2 separate regions of the Homo sapiens genome follow, and region 2 is linked to region 1. Evidence: promoter capture Hi-C in human tissues and cell types (Jung and others, 2019). All regions are on one chromosome and are shown on one strand. The core of a region is centred on a gene start or on the middle of the fragment in contact, and the rest is flanking DNA. Distances in the headings are between cores, read along the strand shown. Region 1 holds the start of HECW1 (HECT, C2 and WW domain containing E3 ubiquitin protein ligase 1). Region 2 overlaps HECW1 (HECT, C2 and WW domain containing E3 ubiquitin protein ligase 1).

Region 1 (6,869 bases), core at 2,293-4,792:
GAGGGTTCACACTACCTGATTTTAAGGCAGTATACATCTACAAAATAGTGTACTATTTGTAAAACAATAGAAAGACAGATCAGAGGCACAAAACAGAGAATATAGAAAGAGACCCCTACAAATCTAACCAAGCGATTATTGAAAAGTTGCGAAAGCGATTCAATCAAGAAAGGATCTTTTCAATAAGTGGTGCTAGAAGAATTGGACATCCCATGTGCAAAAACAAGCCAACAAATAAAAAAGTCACCATCCATAGCTCACACCTAAAAAATAATAAGAATTCAAAATGAACCAAATACTTAAGTGTAAAATGTAAAATCTTGAAACTTATCAGCAAAACACAACTCTTTGTAACCTTGGTTAGTCAAAAGAGTTCTTAGATATACCAAAAGCATGATCTCTGAAAGAAAAAGTTGATACATTGAACTCCATCAACTTTAAAGACATTTACTCTGTGACAGAAACTACTAAGAGAATGAAAAGACAAGCCACACATGGGGAGGAAATATTCAGAAAACTTATCTGACAAAGACATTGTATCTAGAATACAGAAAGAACTCTCAAAAATGAACAATATAAAAGCAAACAACCCACTTAAAAATGAGCAAAAATTTTGAGCACTTTACTACAAATGATAGACGGATGGAAGAGAAGCACAAAAGTAGATGCTCACCATCATTAGTCATTAGGAAAGTCCAAATGACAATCTTGTATTATTGGCTACAATTTGCTCCTGTGCAGAGACTATGTGAGATAGCTTCAACAGCTCGGTCTTTTTCCTCCCCTAGTTATAGTGCGTTCACTTCCGACATTATGTTGAAGGCCTATCCCCAAAGATAAAGCCCCGGATTGGTTCAAGTTATCGTTTTCTCAGCATTGTAGGGACCATTTGTGAATGGTGCTCTGTTTGCTAATCTTTATCTGCATGTGGCCTGAGATGAGCAGGTGAGCAGGCATGTCACCCCCTCCCTGGGTCCTCCTGGGCCTCGAGTTACAAAAGGTGGAAGATTCGGTTGCATGGGCATTATGATAATACAGGTGTTTGTATATGCATCTCAAAACCTTCAACATTCACTTTACGCCATTATATAAGGTTAGTATTAGGAGGGACGCACTGGGACTGTGACTTATTATTTATAACAGTATTTTGAGTACATTAGAAACTTAATAAATATGACTACTAGGATGGCTTTAAGATTCATGCCATGTCTTTTCCTTTCTCCACCAAATACTCTTCTCTTTAAGGTTAGGGCAGCTGACATCTGTAAACTCCAGATTCAAGGTCTTCTGCTTGAAACAAGACTTAAGGAAATTACAGAACTAACATAGCCTTTTTGCTTTCTTCTGTAAAATAGGATCATGCTACCCAGACTACAGGGGGACTGTTAGGAATAACAAACAAAACAGGCCAGGCATGGTGGTTCACGTCTGTAATCCTAGCACTTTGGGGGGCTGAGGCAGGAGGATTGCTTGAGCTCAGGAGTTCAAGACCAGCCTGGGCAACTTGGCAAAACCCCATCTCCACTAAAAATACAAAAAACAAATTAGCCAGGCATGGTGGCACACACCTGTACTCCCAGGTACTCGGGAGGCTGAGGGGGGAGAGTTGCTTGAGCCTGGGAGGCGGAGGTTGCAGTGAATGGAGATTGCACCACTATACTCCACCCTGGGCATTGGAGTGAGACCCCTCACAAAAAATAAAAATAATAAAAATAAAAGGGGACAATACACAGGAGTCTGTATATGCTGCCATTGCACCTGACATGTAGAAGCTGCTCTACAAGGCTTCTTTATCTACTCAGGATGTGAAACTTTGTGTACTGCTATTTTAATATCTTTTGTCTTCAGTATAAAAAAAGCAACTCCTCAGGGGAGGATAAAGCACACCACAAGGATTGCTACATCAATAACCTCTATGAGAGATGTGGACTTGTCAAGTCATCTCCATGATGGATAGAACAGAGAGCAAACATCTCTGAGCCAAGTTGATGCTGATTCACTGAAAATAATGAGGTGAACATCCTGGCAATTAGTTGAGGTAAAAAAATTATCCTTTATTGTGGTTTGGTGACATTGTGCTAATTTAGAAACCATGGATGCTGGTTTATGTGAAAGTTTTTGTTTTCTTTCAAGTCTCTGGTTGGAAACATCACATGGTTGGTTGCTGTTGCTGTTTACTGCCACAGCCTGTTCAAGTCTATTCTCGGAGAGTTTTCTTCATATAGGAGTTGGTACTAATCCAAGTGTAAAATCCGGAGAAATGTGTGCACAGCTTTCTGTGTGGATTCTTAGCTAAGGTTTGAAAATGGTCTGCTTTGAGCTCATCTGACCAGAAGATCTGACTGCTGTCAGGCAAAGAAAAGGGTCTGTCAGGAAAGGACTGGGCACCCCAAGTGGAATACGGAAAGAGAAGGGCTGTGCCTCCTTGCAGAAAAGAGCACAGCTGGTGAAGCTGCCTTCACATCGTCCAAAGTTTCCAGTTCTGGAAAGTTCCAGTTGTAAGAGTGAAATCAATGCCAAGAGGCAGGTCAGTGGAATGAGAGGCACTGAGAAACTAGCCACTGTGGGTGGAAGGGGAAGGAGATTTGGTTTTGACAAGTCCGTACTCAGGTCTTCAGTAAGGAGTTCTGAAGTCAGGGTGAAGCCTTTGTTTATTCTAGAGGAGGCGGAGTTTGGGGTCTGGGAAAGAAGATAACTTCTCAGAAAGTGAAAAAAAGCTCATGTAGAGGATGCTGGGCAAAATAATGGGAAGGAATAAATCAGCATTGTAGAGAATGTGGTTGGATCATAAAATCCCAGGCTATAGAGATTATGTGCTCAAAGCCTCTGCATTTTATGTGAACACACACAAACCAAATGTCGACCAGATGCACAAAAATGTGCATACATGGAGCAGCCAACCACCAATAGTAACCAGCATTTCACTTCTCTTTGCATCTCAGTTGGCTGTACCTGGAAGGGTCTAGACTTTGCCTCCTTCTCGTTCTAGCATTCTGACACTGTGTGCAGTGTAATAGAAAACGCGGTTTGGGAGCTAGGTTTGCCCAACAATAGATATTCTGGGGTGATTTTCATCCTTTGCATTTGTCATTACGATGTTTTGTGTGCTTGTGCAAATACAGGACGGTTCCTGAAATGTGTCTCTGAGCGTTCTTAACTGTGTGTAAGGTAAGCGAGGAAAGTGTCTAAGACAGAGGCCAAGAACACCTGTCACAGGGTACCCGCCTAGAGTGTCTGTACCGCATCCTTTCTGCTACACTGTTTGCACACACACAAAAGGGCCGAGGAGCCAGGGTTGGTGTTGGATATGCCCAGTACGCGTGCTGGGTGTTGGAAGGATGGGGCCGGCGGTAACAAGAATCGATATATATTTACCGCGGGGGCGGGGGTGGGGGTGCGCGGAGGCTGCAGGGCGGGGCAGCGCTAATGAGAGCAAGCCCGGCTTGTGGTTGGTTCTGGAGTCTGGTACCCACAGAGGAGCAGGCAGGGAGGGAGGGGATGCAAGCGGGAGGATAAAGCGATGAAGTGTGCTGCGTTACCGCGCATCAGGCGCTGTTGTTGGAGCCGGAACACCGTGCGACTCTGACCGAACCGGCCCCCTCCTCGCGCACACACTCGCCGAGCCGCGCGCGCCCCTCCGCCGTGACAGTGGCCGTGGCCTCCGCTCTCTCGGGGCACCCGGCAGCCAGAGCGCAGCGAGAGCGGGCGGTCGCCAGGGTCCCCTCCCCAGCCAGTCCCAGGCGCCCGGTGCACTATGCGGGGCACGTGCGCCCCCCAGCTCTAATCTGCGCGCTGACAGGAGCATGATCTGTGCCCAGGCCAGGGCTGCCAAGGTAAGCGGGCGTAGCGCGGGGACACTGTCTGCCGCCCCTTCCCCCCCGCCCTTCTCTGGGCGGCTTCCCCGCCGCACGCGAGGCCCCGGCAGCGCCCTCCCTTCTCGGGGCCGAGATCCACCCTCCTCCCCACCCTCTCGCTTCTCCCGCGAGGTTCAATTGTCAGCCTGGGTCGCGCCGCCGCCCGGTCCGGGCCGGCATCCCCGGGTGGCGACCCCGGCTTGGGTACTGCAGGCGCACCCGGCCCTCCTGCGGGGTACGGAGAGAAACAAAGAAGCCCCCAAGCGGGTTCGCAGCGCCTCCCCCGCCCCTCAGCGCCCTCCCAGTGGCGAGGAGGTGTCAGGGGAGGGGGCGGAGAGACCTACGTAATCCCCCTTCCCAGCCCACACCCACCCCTTGTGAACCAAAGCTCTGGATTTGCGCTTCGCCTTGGGCTCGCTTTTGAACAATTGTGTCCCATGCAATGCCCGTGGTTAGCCCAGAGAGCGCCCAGAGCCTCCGCACGGGCTCGCCGGTGCTCGCTCGAGGGGCGCGTGGCCAGGTCCGGCCCTTGCTCCCATGGACGGGTGCAGGAGGGGAGGAGGCGCTGTGTGGGTGCTCCCCCAGCGCCTCCCTGTTACCGGCCGGCTGCGCCGCTCAGCCGGGCCTGCCACCTGAGTTTTAGCGGGAGCAGTCATGTCGCCTACCGTATTGCGACTTGCAGACAGGCAGGGAGGGAGCTGCCGGGGCGGGGAGGGGGGGGGAATGCGTCCGGTCCATTTTTGGCTGGAGGTGCGCTTCCTGCTACCCCCACGTTCCCGGGCGGTGACAATGCAGCAAAATCCGAGGGCTCAAACAATGTGGCCCCTCCATCCCCGGCTCCAGGGCATTCTGATTGCTCTGCCGCTTTGACGTCCCGGCCACTTGGCTGATTTTCAGAGCCATGATGCGCGGTGTCTCTGTCTTGCACACAGAGGCTGGGCACCATAACTTCTTCCCTGCCGAATTTCAGCGCGTAGGGGGAGCTGGCAGGGACACAGGCTGCAGAGATGCCCGGCTTCCTGTGGTTCCGGGCACAGCGCGCCTCAGTCTGCATTGGGCTGACACCAGAGAGCATGTGGGGATTTTCCTAGTTGCCGAAGAAGATATTATTTGACGTTGCTGTAGTTTTGTGCTTACTTCTCTTGGAATCTGCAGTGGTGCAATTCTCCCCTTGTTTTCCCCCCTTCTCTTTGAAAAGATATCAATGCTATGTTCAGCAGAAACGGATACAGCAAGAGCAGCATAGTTCAAAAATTGAGGGAGGCATCTTCTCTCTTTTCCTGGGATTTAAACGCGATTTAGGAGGGCAGATGCCCTACCCGAAAAGGCCAACCGTTAAAGACCCCGGCAGTGTTGTGGTCCAAGGCGTCTCAAAGCAGGTGGCCAGATCTGCGTTTCTCATCAGCAGACTCACTCCGGCTGTGGCTATTACGGTAATTCATTCTAGATTGGGGATTCATTTAAAAATGTGTGTTTTCCACTAAGAAGGGATTAGAGTCCACATGCCCACCCTGGTATGAATGTGTGTGCCTGTTTGGTAGAGAGATAGATTGTGGTAGAATTCCCTGTTGGTAGAATTCCCTGTTGCCTGTTCCCTCCGCTTGCTGCTTCCTCTGGAATGTGGCATTGGAAAAACAAAGCACTATTTTAATTCCTAGACCTCCAGGCAAATTGGCCGTTCTAGTGTTTTATTTAATAATCCACGTTCTGACTAATTCCACACTATAATCCCAGTCTAGTGCAGTTGGCTGCTTTGTGGAATGACAGTTCTCTTTTTTTTTGGAGTAGTTTTTTCATGAAGGCAAATTGCCTAAGTTTGTTTAGATTGTGACATTATTGACTTGATAGGGAGGTCACATCCGGAGCTGGAACAGCCCATCAATGTATCAATACAGAGGGACTGCAGCTCTGTTATTTGTGTATATAGCATCATTTGACTTGATTCCTTTTACACTCTGGCTTTTAAAGATGGATGTATTACAAGATCACTTTGAGCTTTACCTTCTATTATGCTTCCATCTGATATGATTGTTAACAAAAGAAATATTAAAAGGCCAGATGTGATATGGAAAGACAAGCCTGAGTCTCATTCCTCATGGTAAAGGAAGTTGGACTGGCTGGTTTCTATCGTTCTTTCTAGTTCCAGCATTCTGTGGTAACTGACAGAGGAGTAAGAAAAGTTACCCAGTGTTGGAAAGGCAAATAATTATAACGTGAACCATGCAAGCAAACCAAGGATTGACTGTAGAATCTGCGGCTTATTTTTATACCTTGCAGCTTTTAAAACCCAAGCGTCTGCATTTTCCCCATAAGTGAAATTACTCACCAACTCAAACAGGTCTTTTTTTTTTTTTTTTGTCCACTATAGCAAAACATTTGGTGGAGGGTTGGGGAAAAGAGAAGAAGATTGAATTAATTGGATAACAGGTGTTCTCCTTTTGTGGAGTTATTCATTCCAACCCCATCTTAGATAATTGAGAATTCACTTTTTCCAATCATTGGTTTTTGTTTGTTTCTAATGAGACACTCTAGATAGCTGTTTCATCCTATGCAGTAATTGACAATGGCATGAGACTTACTTTCTCTGATGTAATTTGGTGTTGCTCTCAAAACTTGCTAGCGCTGTTGCTTGTCACAAAAATGGGTGAAGCAATGATTGGTCTAAATAGGCAGGCAGGCAGTGTTTTCATGCGCTATGGTAATTTTTATAATTTAGGTATAGTCAAGGTATTTGTTGATTCATGCTTAGCCACACAATTTTCCGTAGTTGTGCACTCATTTGTTTTAAGTTACAATCAAAATAATATCCTGAAATTACAGTCCCTGCAAGGCATAATTAACCACTTCTTCTCCTGTTTTCCCATAGCCTTTTTGTTCATAGAGCTAAGATAGCACTTACAATATTGCAGTTATCTGAGTTGTAAATGTGCCACAGTCTCCTTATCTTAAATATGGGATGAGCTTCTTCAGAACAAGGACATGTTTATATTCATCTCTCCAGCACCTAGCAGTTTG
Region 2 (6,869 bases), core at 3,211-5,710, 53 kb after region 1:
TGTGTACAGTTCTTAAATCAGAAACAGCACCAGTAGTGCATGGTACAGTGAGACACATTTTCTCTGGCTCTGACTGAGAAAGATATTTCAAATATCGCTTTCAGATAATGCAGCCTTGTGAGATAGTGAACTCTCCATTCCTGGAAGTATTCAAGCTAAGGTTGGAGAGGTGATGACGGTTTCCATTATTTTGGAGGGTGAACTTCCAAGGTCTCTGTATCACTAAGGTGATTCTGTTACTCCTGGCTAATTAAGCTTATGTTTTAGATTTTTCCTTTTCCTTTTTCTCCAGTCCCTAATTCCCATATACACTTCTCTGCAAAGTGTCTTCATTGTGGTGTCACTTGTGTGTATCTGTGTCCTCTGTGCTATAACTGCAATGTGACCCGTTTCCCATGAATGTCCTGGGGTGGTGCTTGAGCTTTTCATGGGCTTGCGCCTTTCACCGCCCACTATTGAACATGCAGATGTGATGGTGGCATCTGTCACTTGCTCTGTGATCACTCTTCTCTCATAACTGGTGGAAGGAAAAAAATGATTTCACGTTAATGAACACCATAAACAATTGGATATCCACTTTAGTGAACATCAAGATCTATCCATTAGTGTGTCTTATCACTCTCAGCTACTTTTTTTCGTTTCCTTGTGTTTTGTAAGGAATTGAAAAAGAAAGCAAGATGATATTTAGAACTTACTTGTTAGTGGATCAGTTTCCTTGGGCTGCCGTAACAAATTACGACAAACTTGTGGCTTAAAACAATAGAAATGTATTCTCTCAAAGTTCTAGAGGCCAGAAGTCTGAGATCCAGGCATTGGCAGGGCTGTACTCCCTCACAAGGCTCCAGAGCCCAATCAGTGCCTTTCCTCTCCTAGCTTCTGGGGGCTCCAGTTGTTTGGTGGCTATGACTGCATCACTCCAACCTCCATCTCCATGGTCTGCCTCCTCTTCTCTCTGTCTCTCCTCTGCGTGTCCCTCACAAGGACACTTGTCATTGGATTTAGGATCCACCTGAATAATCCAGGATGAACTTTTATCTCAAGATACTTGACTCAATTACATATGCACCCTTTTCCCAGATAAGGTCATATTCACAGTTGCCAGGCATTAGGACATGGACATATCTTTTGGAGGCCCACCATTCATCTTATTACAGGCAGTAAGCCAGGAGATTCCATAGGGAGAAAAACTGAGTAAGATCTCACTTGGAGATCCTGGGAATGCCTTTTAATACAGAGGTAGTGGTCCCTATAAACAAAGCTCCCATACTACTGTAATAATAACATTGTAATAATAGCAGCAGTAATTTATGGAGCACTTGTTCTGTGGGAGGCATTGTTCTAACTACCTTTACAAGCATCATCTGAGCTAATCTCTCAACAACTCTATAAAGAGGCAACTATTGTTACTGTTGTTTTACAGATGAAGAACATGAGTCTTAGAGAAGTCAAAGAAGTTGCCTAAGGTCACATGAGCAGTGAGCAGAGGAGTTGCTTACCTTTGTTAGACTCCAAATCCTGTGTGACTATGAAACTCATTAACTGAAACAACCCGGCACCTTTGGACCTGTGCAGGCAAAGGCAAGGGAGTTGACCAGGAGCACACAGCACAGACGAGAACAGTCCCAAAGCCTTTTGCTGTATCCCATCTGTGCAAACCACTCCCAATAAACAAACAAACACACACCAGGCTTCTTGAACAATTTCTCCCCGTTGCCAAGCTATTGGAAGAAAAGAACGCAAATCCGATCAGATTCATTACTAGTTTGAGGATTGCAAATACATTTCACCTTGGGTTGGATTGCGAACCATATATGGAAAGGACACCATGTTGATCAGTGTGCATGCACACACACATACACACCCCCACTGTGTGCAGTGACAGAAGTGCTCATTGTGTGCCAAACACCACCCTTGTTCTGTCCGGGGGGAGGTGCTGCGAAGACTGGGGAGATGGAGGCAGGCTCTGCTTCTGGCTGGATTCCTCAACCCACCTCCCTAGGCTCCCTGACCTTCCATTTGAAGGTCCAGGCCAAGTCGCAGACCATATGCCAGTTATCCAGGGAGCTTGCTACAAGTCACCCTCATGCTCCTGGTCTTCCATTCCCAGCCGTCAGCCAGAACCCAGATTCAGTGACCAGTTATGACCCCTGGGAAAGAGTTGCCCCAGGTTCGATCAACTAAGCTCCCCCAAATGGCTCTGCTTTAATTCTTCCTAATCTTGTTCATTCCCTCCTTGCCTGCTACATGTGGCTGCCAGGAACCCTCACATCTTGGGTCTAACCACTGAGAAATGGTGGAGATGTTTGGATTTGATGGAAGGATTTGGACAAGCAAAGATGAGGGTATTGCAGGTGACTCGAACAGTTGAGTACAACTGTAAAGAAGGAAGTCATTGTCCTGTTCTGGCAAGAGCAAGTAATTTATTTAGTATTTCTAGAATCTCAGTCTAAGAGAAAAAACTGGGCCTTGGGTGACAGGAGGTGGGCAGGAGTTCATCCTGCCCTGGCTGGCAGATTTCACACAGGGAGAAGAGCCAGGGCAGGCAGCGAAGAGAGCGGTTGGAGGCCCAGGCTTGGGTGGAGGTAGTGGGAATGAAAGGGAGCCAATACATGGGGGAAGTCAAAGAGCAGCTAAGGACCAGGCTGGGGAGAGGAATGGCCAAAGAGAAGTCAGAGTTGGCCCGAGTCATCTGGTCTGCATGGGCTGGAGACAGGGAGGCAGCAGAGAAGGCAGGAGGAGGAAGGGCTCAGCCATTGGCACTTAATAGTTATTATTTTTATGATTTATTTATGCCTCAATTACTTTCAAAAAATTAAAGCAGCTAATAAAAAGTGCATGACCAATAAAATGTTAGCACATATTGAAACAGTGTTTTGCATAAGTTGAGTTGAAGGTGCCAGTGGGGCCTCCTGGGGGAAGATTCAGCAACATTGGGAAATCAAGAAGGCACCAGGGTGTCCTCTGGATCGAGCCTTGAGTGGAGGGGGCTGCTCGGCATCTGTGCTGTGTGCCCAGACTCCCCTCAGTGCACCCCTCCTGTGCTCCCCATGGGAAGACACACCCCTCCCTCCTTCCTTTATCAGGCCTCCTGAGGGTCAGGCCCCTGCAGGGCCAGCAGCCATGGCACAGTCCTTGGTGCATAGTGGGTGTGTTTCAGGGCCACTGGACTGGACTTTCCTTTTGGTGTGGAGGGAGGGAGAAGCAATGGAGAAAGAGGCGAGGACAGAGAGCGCCACATCCTGGGGTCAGATCTCCAGGACTGATGGTGCATGTGAGGCAAGTGCAGACTCTTCCAGAATTAGAAAGGAGATGCCGAGCATGCAGCCGCGCTTCCATGGTGTATGATTCAGAATATTTGTCCTGCACTCTGCAGGTCATCATAACACAAGCTCATTCATCAGCGAGTGTCTTAAGAGTGAAGAGTCATGGCTGAAAGCAGAAGGATGAATCAGTGGTTTCTAAAGGTTCCTCTCTCTCTGAGTCAGGGAATGCCCCTTTGTCTATATTTGTAACTGCTCCCTTGTTTCAGAACATTTCCACTTTTGGAGAAATGCCATAAGTTAGTCTGGCTTGAAATTTGGTTTCAATAGTAAGGCCTTCTCAATCCCTAAATGATGAAAATAATAAAATAATGGAAATAAAAGGGATTTTAATTTTCCCTGGCATCTATTTCAAGTATTATTACAGTGCACTGATTGTTTGTAATGTTTATTGAAATGTGTCAATTTCCCTTTTTCTTTTCCTCTGTTTTCACTTTTGTGTCCAGAGTTGGAGATTTCCAGAACACATTGGCAGCCATGTGCATACAATTTCCAACTTTAGAACACTGTGTATGAATTATGTTACATATCATGAGGTTAGAAAATAATGCAAAGGACACTGGGCTTTTGGCGGGGGGGGGTGTTTGTGTGTGTGCACACAGGTATGTGTGTGTGTTTGAATACAACAGCCTCTAATGACATCAAAGGTCATTAATAACAATTCAATCAATTATCCGTGAAGGTGTAAGATGCTTACTCTGTGGAGTTTAGATAGATTTGAGAACATAAGAGTGATTTTATTTTTGCTTTTTGTGCATTTGAAAAGGACACAACTCTCCTATGCAGAGTTTTTGGTTTCTGGTTGTATGATGCTTTTTATCCATACATAGGCGTTGTGAGCCCACTCTAATCACTTAGATTTTTTTTTAGTAATAGTTTCCTTACAATCAATCATGCCAGCAGTTGTGAAAATATGCTATAAGCTTTATATTAAGACAAATAAAGTTGAGATGCTGTGTCTCCAGCAGAAATAACTTCCTTTCTATTTCTTATTTCAATCAGTCATGCCAGAGATATAAAACCATGCCATCAGCCATTTGCATGTGTTGAGATTCTGAGTCCCAATGCAGATTTAAAAGAGGACTTTCCCTCTAACTCCTTGCCTATTAATATACTCATTCACTCATTCAATTATTCAACCAGTGTCTATGAGCTCCTGCCGTGGTTCAAGCACAGCTGGAGTGGCTAGGTCACAAAGATGAATTGGACATGGTTAAAAGTCTTCCTTCCTCTCTGGTGAAGGGATTTTTGTTTGTTTGTGTTTTTGGTTTTTTTTGAGACAGAGTTTCACTCTTTCGCCCAGGCTGGAGTGAAGTGGTGCTATCTCAGCTCACTGCAACCTCTGCCTCCTGGGTTCAAGCAATTCTCTTGCCTCAGCCTCCCAAGTAGCTGGGATTACAGGCACCCACCACCACAGCCAGCTACTTTTGTATTTTTAGTAGAGATGGGGTTTTGCTATGTTGGCCAGGTTGGTCACGAACTCCTGACCTCAGGTGTGTTCCACCTGCCTTGGCCTCCCAAAGTGCTAAGATTATAGGCATGAGCCACTGTGCCTGGCCTGGTGAAGGAGATTGACTTTGAAATGGTGAGTGATAAGCTAGATGCCTACCCAAGCTATAATAGTATTAGGATCTAGAAGCAGCACCCAGGCCAGCTGCAGGGTGGAGATGGATGAGGGAAGGCTGACCCCTGAGCCAACTCTTATTATTACTGATATTTTAAGAAAAGATAGGGGTTAGTCACATTACAAGTAAAAGCTTTTCTTTACTAAAAAGATGTTTTGTTTATTTCACATTGTACAGTATACATTATCCTTCAGATTACATTTTATTGATGATTATAGATGATTCATAACTTGAGAGGAAGTATAATAGGAACCTTTGTCCACTAAAGAGTACTAAGACACTGAGGTGAATGCTGCAAACCATTCTGTTGGTCAGGTGGAAAGGGCCCATTTGAATTATTGATCTTAATTAATTACCAGCACAGGACTGAGGGTGGGGCCAGGGAGGGCAGCACAGGCCCAGGCCATGGCTGGTCATGGGTGATGACAGGTGCTCCTGGAGAGCTCAGCAACTGTGGCCGCATGTGGATGACCCCGTGTGCCAGGCCCCAGGGGACTTCACCTCTCAGGCTGTAGGCAGCCACTGAATGACGCAAGGCAGGCAAGAGGCATGACCAGAGTGGGATGTTTCCAAAAGACCCCTTTCTGATGAGATAGTGGATTCACTTCCCATTGCTATAACAACTTATCACAAACTTTATGGCCTAAAGCAACAGGAATTTATTCTCTCAGTTCTGGAAGCCAGAAGTCTCATATTAGGTATGAGAAGGGCCATGCTCCCTTCAAAGGCCCTAGAGGAGGATCCTCCCCTATCCTCTTCCAGCTCCTGGTGGTGCTTGACCTTTCTCGGTTTGTGGCCACATAACTCCAGCCCTTGCCTTCATCTCCACATGGCCTCCTTCCCCTATGTCTCTGTGTCTTCTCTTCTATTCGAGGAATACTAGTCATTGCACTTAGAGTCCACCCTAAATCTAGGGTGATTTTATCTCAAGATCCTTGCTTAATCACCTCTGCAAAGAGCCTCTTTCCAAATAAAGTCATATTCTGAAGTTCTAGAAGGGTGGATATGAATTTAAGGGATCCACTATTCAACAACTCCAGATGGAGGGAGGTTGGAAGAGGTTCGGAGGATGAGGTCTAGCAGGACATGGGAGGACATTACAGAGGAACCTACAAGAAGTGAAAGAGAATGCATAGGTGGCATGCTGGGGCAGGTTTCAAGAAATGTGTGTTCAGGAGGAATAAGGGAGGAAAGGGTAAAAAAGAAGGATGAGGGATTGTGGCGTAAAAGCCAAACCTTCACAAATTTGCTTTCCACCCATGTAGGTATCTTCTAGCATTAAGTTCTAGTTCAAGTACCACCCTCTCTCCTGTAATGGCTGACAAAAGTGTTACTAGGATCACCTCATTTAATTCTTAAACAGTACTATTATGATCACTCACACTCTAACACACACCCTGTTTTAAAGAGGAAACAAATTGAGGCTTGGAGAGGTTAGGTGGCTTGCTAGTAAATAAATGCTGGAGCTAGAATTTGAACCAGACAACCATACTGTAAGCCCAGCACTCCTGAATACTCACACATCACACATACCCCTCACCAACACCACACCACCAAGTAAAATTATTCCTCCCATCTCTAAATCCCCATAGCCCGTGGTGTACGCTTCCTTTCGGCATTTGTTCAATTACCAACTAGTTTATTTTTACAAGTAGATTTGTGTACGTGTCGTGAGGAGAGGGACTGGACATGTTTCACTTTTGCATGATGTCCCCAATATCTTGCACCTGCATTGCACAAAGATCATGTTTATGAGTGTTGAATCATGGGATGCTATCTTAATTCAGACCACAATTATATGTTCAGCCTGTGTGAGAGACAGAGAGAGAGAGACAAGGAAACATACAGCTATTATACAGTATGTGGTGTGCAGGGATACAGGTGAACACACAGAGACCTTGGGATGCATCTCATATGTATGTGC

The links. Contacts are between HindIII fragments. The study calls those that stand out against the background at their distance.
Region 2: a fragment that was not itself captured here is called in contact with the fragment with the promoter of HECW1 in region 1 in 2 of the 25 tissues and cell types used here (adrenal gland and dorsolateral prefrontal cortex).

The regions. Positions count from the first base shown.
Region 1 is chr7:43,109,105-43,115,973 of GRCh38, forward strand. It overlaps HECW1 (HECT, C2 and WW domain containing E3 ubiquitin protein ligase 1), which reads left to right and starts at 3,543. Exons shown (of 30, transcript NM_015052.5): 1 at 3,543-3,833; 2 at 5,053-5,287. The HindIII fragment of the contact is 15,211 bases long and covers 1-6,869 here.
Region 2 is chr7:43,161,506-43,168,374 of GRCh38, forward strand. The region is part of intron 2 of HECW1 (HECT, C2 and WW domain containing E3 ubiquitin protein ligase 1); the gene reads left to right. HECW1-IT1 (HECW1 intronic transcript 1) reads left to right here. Exons shown (of 7, transcript NR_135295.1): 6 at 105-210; 7 at 1,421-1,682. Among named protein-coding and RNA genes, the nearest start is that of MIR3943, 14 kb to the left of the region's middle. RefSeq lists an enhancer at 3,064-3,123. The HindIII fragment of the contact is 4,422 bases long and covers 2,250-6,671 here.